Linked DNA regions of Homo sapiens: region 2 is linked to region 1. The links are contacts of gene promoters, found by promoter capture Hi-C in human tissues and cell types (Jung and others, 2019). All regions are on one chromosome and are shown on one strand. The core of a region is centred on a gene start or on the middle of the fragment in contact, and the rest is flanking DNA. Distances in the headings are between cores, read along the strand shown.

Evidence for each region. Contacts are between HindIII fragments. The study calls those that stand out against the background at their distance.
Region 2: a contact is called between a fragment that was not itself captured here and the fragment with the promoter of CTRC in region 1, in 1 of the 25 tissues and cell types used here (dorsolateral prefrontal cortex).

What each region holds. Positions count from the first base shown.
Region 1 is chr1:15,436,555-15,439,864 of GRCh38, forward strand. It overlaps CTRC (chymotrypsin C), which reads left to right and starts at 1,889. Exons shown (of 8, transcript NM_007272.3): 1 at 1,889-1,950. The coding sequence starts at 1,911. The HindIII fragment of the contact is 5,601 bases long and covers 1-3,310 here.
Region 2 is chr1:15,105,755-15,109,173 of GRCh38, forward strand. The region is part of intron 13 of KAZN (kazrin, periplakin interacting protein); the gene reads left to right. Among named protein-coding and RNA genes, the nearest start is that of TMEM51-AS1, 45 kb to the right of the region's middle. The HindIII fragment of the contact is 5,129 bases long and covers 1-3,419 here.

The DNA of each region.
Region 1 (3,310 bases), core at 639-3,138:
TAATCCCAGCTACTCGCGAGGCTGAGGAAGCAGAATTGCTTGAACCCAGGGGTGGAGGTTGCAGTGAGCTGAGATCGCACCACTGCACTCCAGCCTGGGCCACAGAGCAAGACTCTCAAAAAAAAAAAGTGTAAGTTAGAATCCTCCTTCACCCCCAGATCACCGCTATGAATGGCGGGGTGCGTAGTGCTCTGAACTTTTCTATCAGGAAGGAATTCCTAAGGTGGCCAGTAGGCCCAGCTCAGAAAATGACCTTCAAGGGGAGCTCAGTATGAGTAGAGGGGAAACGAAAGACAGAATCTAACCAACCAGGCTGAGGCCAGGCCTTGGGGCGAATGGATCAAACCACATGTTCCAAGGGATGGCCAACCCCGAATGCCGGAGGCTCTGGTAGAATTTCTGCTACTCAGTGCTTTGGGCCCTCAGATCTGCCACTGACCTTGACATTCAAGTTACAGAATTGTAGAACTGAAAGGAGCCTGAAAGTCCATCTGGTCCTTTTGCCCATTTTAGAGATGGGGAAACTGAGGACCTACAACTAAGCTGACTCCAGGAAGGAATCTGGCCAACTAAGCACCTTCCAGAGCCTGCTGCATCCCTGCCTCCAACCACAGCCCTGGAGGCAGGTGCAGGAGTGCATCAAGCCCAGGCAATTAGAAAGATGAGACAGAGAGAGAGCCAGGAAGCGATCCAATAGCACTAGAAAGGCAGAGAAGGAGCAGCATGTCTCCACAGCTTGAAGCCCCAGGCTGGTGTTAGAAGCTTTGGCTTCAAAGTCTGGCTCTGCTGCTGCCCAGCCGTGTGACCCTAGATGGTCACTTACCCGCTGAGTCTCAGCTTCCTCACTTTTATTTTATTTTTTTAGAGACAAGGTCTTGTTCTGTCACCCGCGCTGGAATGCAGTGTGGCACGATCACGGCTCACTGCAGCCTCGAACTCCTGGGCTCAAGCGATCCTCCTACCTTGGCCTCAGGAGTAGCTGGGACTACAGGCATGCACCACTGCGCCTGGTCCTTTCTCATCTCACCTCAGAGCAGATAACCGCGTCTATTTCATGTTGTTGGAAGAATTAAGTGAGATAATGCAAGAAGAATTGAGCGCAATGCCTGACACACAGTAGGTGCCCAATAAATAACTAAAAAGAATAAGGTAACGGCCTGTAATCACACCTGTAATCCTAGCACTTTGGGAGGCTGAGGTAGGCAGATTGCCTAAGCTCAGGAGTTCAAGACCACCCTAGGCAACAGGGTGAAACCCTGTCTCTACTAAAATACAAAAAAAAAAAAAAAAAAAAAATGGTGGCACACATCTGTAGTCCCAGCTACTTGGGAGGCTGAGACAGGAGAATCGCTTGAACTCGGGAGGCGGAGGTTGTAGTGAGCTGAGACTCCAGCCTGGGTGACAGAGCAAGATCCTGTCTCAAAAAAATAAATAAAATACAAAAGATTAACCTGGCGTGGTGGCAGGCGCCTGTAGTCCCAGCTACACAGGGGGCTAAGGCACGAGAATCGTTTGAGCCCGGGAGGTGGAGGTTGCAGTGAGCTGAGACTGTGCCACTGCATTTCAGCCTGGGCAACAGAGCAAGACTCCATCTCCAAATAAATAAATAAATAGTATAAGGTAGGGAGAGAGAATGAACACACACGTCAAACAGAGTGGGGTGGGGGATGCCAAAAAGCACTGCAACTCAGAATTTTCTGTTTCAGGATATTTGGAAAATCCATACTTCTAAGAAAGCCCTGTCTCCTGCCCAAATTAAACAGTAACCACCCAAGGTCAGGGAAAGGGCCTTATCAGAGCAGGTTTCTCTCCAAGGGGCGGTTTGGCCTTGACCAGGTGCACTCACCTGCTCCTGCCTATAAGTGTGCCCCAGCCCATCCCGATGGTCAGCCAGTCCTGAGCACCTAACCATGTTGGGCATCACTGTCCTCGCTGCGCTCTTGGCCTGTGGTAAGCGGTGGGGTGGGGCTGCAGCTAGCAGGCTGTGAGCTCGGGCTGGCCTCCAGGGCAAGGACGGGATGGGGAGTGGGGGGGCCTCTGCTCTCCAGGTAAGACACTTTGGGGTCCCCTGTGGGTTCAGATGCTACCAACCAGCTGTGTGTCAGACAAGCCACAGCCTGCCTGCCAACTCTGTTTCCACATCTGCAAAACAGGGAAGATGATCTGACGTGTCCCCAGTTAGAAATGAGGTGTGGAAAGCACCACGCAAGGGGGAGGGACACGAGATGCCTCATCCTGGGTTCACCCCAGGGACCATCGGGGTCTGCCTTTCCCAGCATTCTCTCTCCCTTGAGGATTCTCCATTCCATCATTTTGGTGGCGTTTTCCCAGATTAGGAGCCCAGGGACTTAGCTTAAATGCCACTTCTTCTCTGCAGGACCTGGAAAAGTCATTTCACCTCTCTAAATCTCACTAACTTTTTTGGCAAAGGAGAGCACTTAATGAAGAGTCCTTCCAGCTAACAACAACAACAGTAATAATAGCAGCTCCTGTTTCCTGTGTGTTTACTATGTGCCAGACGCTATGCTAGGCCCCTTACATGTAGGAGCCAATTTAATCCTCAAAACAACCTTAAGAGGTAGGGTCTATTGCCAGGCATGGTGGCTCACGCCTGTAATCCCAGCACTTTGGGAGGCCGAGGTGGGTGGATCACTTGAGATCAGGAGTTTGAGACCAGTCTGGCCAACAAGATGAAACCCCGTTTCTACTAAAAATACAAAAATTAGCCAGGCGTGGTGGCGGGCACCTGTAATCCCAACTACTCAGAAGGCTGAGGCAGGAGAATTGCTTGAACCCAGGAGGAGGTTGCAGTGAGCCGAGATCGCGCCATCAAACTCCAGCCTGGGCAACAAGAGTGAAACTCCGTCTCAAAAAAAAAAAAAAAAGAAAAAGAAAGAAAAAGAGGTAGGGTCTTTTCATAGCCCCATTTTACAGATGAGGACATCGAGGTTCCGTGCGACTTAGTATCTTGCCTGACATCACATGGCAGGTTAGTGGAAGAGGCAGAATTTGAGTCCACGTCTGTCTCGCGGAACAGCACGTGTTCTTGACCGCTCCACACAGCTTCCCAGCTATAACAGTGGATTTACTGCTCTCTCACACACACACCATGATGCAGGGGCCTAAAAACAGACAGAAGAACACAGGTGTACCGGGCACTCGCACACATGCCAGCCAGTTTTGTTTTGTTTTGTTTTGTTTTTTGAGATGGAGTTTTGCTCTTATCACCCAGGATGGAGTGCAATGGCACGATCTCGGCTCACTGCAACCTCCATCTCCCAGGCTCAAGCGATTCTCCTGCCTCAGCCTC
Region 2 (3,419 bases), core at 827-3,326, 330 kb before region 1:
GCAGGGTCCAGGTGTCCTGGGCTGCTCTTCCCTATTGGAGGCTGACACCCAAGCTGTTCTCAAAGTGAGGCCCACCCCACAGACCCTTGCAGCAGAATCATTGAAGCTATTGTAAAATGCAGATTCCCTGGTCCTGCCTCAGACTTGCAGGACAAGTATCTGCTGGCAGAGCACAGGACTCTACATTTTTAGCATTTTGGGGTGCTTCTTACAGAGACAATGTTTGATAAGAACTCTGTTTTAGGCCAGGCATGGTGGCTCATGCCTGCAATCTCAGCACTTTAGGAGGCGGAGGCAGGAGGATTGCTTGAGTCCAGGAGTTCAAGATCAGCCTGGGCAACATAGCGTGACCTTTTCTCTACTAAAAATTAAAAAAATTCCCTGGAGGTGGTGGAGTGCACCATATAATCCCAGCTACTCAGGAGGCTGAGGCTGGGGATTACTTGAGCCCGGGAGTGTGAGGCTGCAGTGAGCTATGATTATGCCACTGTACTCCAGCCTGGGTAACAGAGCAAGGGTCCATCTCTACAAAACAGAAAAACAAAACAAAACCCTCCTCCAGGAGCCATGAATCAAAAGACACAGGAAAAAGCCTTTTCTCCTCAGAATTATCCCCTTTCCCTGACTTCCCTTCTGGAGCCACATGATCTGTAACAAACTTTTTTCTGAGCCCTGGAGAGATGGCTCTAGCTGAATATTAGCAGGCATTTGTGTATCTGATTAAACTCTTGACCACTCATGAGGTGACAGGTGTGTTCAGGACTAAGACTAGTCAGGGAGCACCAGAGAAGGGACTGGTGGGGACAAATAGGGTGGGTTCTTATGTTGTGGTGGGGCAGGGACTTCTTCAAGAATGAGACGAAATCAATGAACCTCTCAATGATAAGATAAGAGGGAAATGACTCTGTCCAGGCTCCACATTCACCAAGAGCTTATGGGTCCCAATATGACGTCATCTCTAGTCTCTTCCCACAACTTTGACAATGCACATGACCCAAAGGCGCCAAGGAGAAGTCTCTGCCATGGTCTCATGGTATCTGCTTTGACACACACTGACTTCCTGCATCTCCCGATAAACCTTGGTCCGGCGCCAACAATGTGTCAGTCATAGGACTGTTCTTTAAGGACCTGGAGAATAAAACCAGTGGGCAGGAAGGATGCAGCAAGGAGCAGAGGTACCCAAAGGCAGCTGCCAGGGGATCGGAGGAGTCAAAACAAACAAAAAAAATATGCCTTGAAGGCAATATGGCCTGTCACTAAAACAGAGTCAGGGACAGGACACACAAAGGAGCAGGACTGGAACCAGAGCAGGACTGGAACCCAGGTCTCTACTCCTAGTCAGAAGCTCTTTCTGGAACTGATCTCTCTCCCCTGGGATCTAAGCTAGAATAGTGCCCCTTTTGCCATAAAAGCCACCCTCCACAGTCATTGAACACCTGCTGTGAGCAGGCACTTGGGTGATCCATGTCCTGCCTTCACGAAGCTTACAGAGATGGGAGAAGACCTCATAGGTGGATGGTGTGGAGTTCCAGCCCAGGGCCTGCTTCCACTCCAGGTTTTCTCTCTTTCCCTTTTTTAATAGATCTCTGAGGGTCTCTGCTCATCCAAGAAAGGCTTTGGCTCCCATCCAGGCAAGAAACTGGTTTCATAGACAACTAGGTGAAGACATAAACCCATCCAGAATGCCTTGTGGCACTCTAGCCCCAGGCAACCCAAGTTCAAATCCCAGCAGCACCAATCCTGGCTGTGTGACCCTGGGCAAGTTACTTAACCTCTCTGAACTGTACTTTCCTCATTTGTAAAATGAGTATGGTAATCACTATCTGCCACCCAAAGAGTTGATGGCAAGATGAGATAAGACAATGCATAAAGCAATTGGCAAAGGAACCAGTACATCATAAGACACCCAATAATATAAATATTAGTGATTTATTCCAAACCCACCCCTAGCCCCACCACCGCTGCCTCCCATTCCTCCTCTGCAGGGCAATGGCTGCAATGTGGTTTCGAGCCCCAGCATCACTGCTTTCTTGCTGTGTTGAACATGAGCTAGTGGTTTTAGGTTTTACTCTCTGAGCCTCAGTTTCTTCCTCTGTAATAGGGGAATATGACTCATACCGACCTTGTAGCTTTGTTCCAAAGGTTCAGTGAGGCAAATTGTATGCAGCCTGCTTGATACATAGATGCCCGGCAGTAACTGAGAGCTTCTGCCCCTGCCTTCATCTGGAGGCAGAAGAATCTCCATGCAGTCAATTTCCTCTGGAGTAGCTGCATAGGAGTCCCCTTCTGTCAGTTTGCTCCAGCGTTCTCATTAGCATTTCAATGGAGAAGAACAATTCCATTACAAACTCAAATAGACTTGACCCTCAAACACATAGAATGAGAGAACCTTGTCACCTGTCCCACCTCCTCGGCTGACAGGCTTCCCAAGACATTGGCAATGGAAAACATTTATTCTCTGGTCACTCAGCAGGCCGCTGGAATGGGGGTGGAAGGACACATTGAGCTTAGATGAGATTCTGTCCCACCCCACCCTCAAACCATCCCTGAAATGTGAGCCCAAACTCCAGGCACTGGGTCAGCTGAGTGCCCAGAGGCGTGGGCCTGTGTGCAATGGGACCCAGCGGGGCCTTTGAGGCCACATTCTGGCTCCTCCGCCATCATCGTGTGATTTTAGACAAGAAATTTACCCTCTCTGAGCCACGGTTTTTTCAGCTTGCAATGGGGATGATCACTCCTTCTTCCCAGGGCTTTGCAGAGGGTTTGCTGAGCCACCGTGGTGAGGAGCTGACAGTGTGCCCAGCACGTAGTGGGTGGCCCTCGAGTACTCTTTCCTTCCCATTCATTTTCTCCAGCACAGCATCTTGTGCCTCTCTGCCCTTGTAAATCCTTGGTTAATGGGTTGAGACTCAATGCTCGGGCTGGCCCACCTGGTGGAGGCTGACTCCCAACCCCCAACCTTCCTTCCTGCACCATGATGCCTATTTAGTGCCCAGGGTTCTCTACATTGACTCAGGAGAGTCCAGTGAGATGCCCCATTCTCCATAACGTTCCCTCATCAAAAGTTCCCCTTCTAACGTACCATTTCCTCGAGGTCTAAGTGACTAGAAATACTTAATAGGTCGGTTCAAAGCTTCCAAAGACCTTGGCCCTGTGCTTGGCTTATGCCCTGGAGTTTTCGTGTTTTCATCTTATCCAAAGGCCTAGATGGGGGGATTTCAGCCACTGTGGAAAAAATAAGGAGGGAGGATATTTTGGCACACTGGAGGCCAAGGTCACCCCGTATTCCTTTGTCTACAGAAAGACAACCACTTTCTGTGCATAGGGTAGCTTGTTAAGACCAGGGCTGGCCAGGCACGGTGGCTCACACTTGTAATCACACCACTTTGGGAGGTCGAGGCCGGTAGATCACTTGAGCC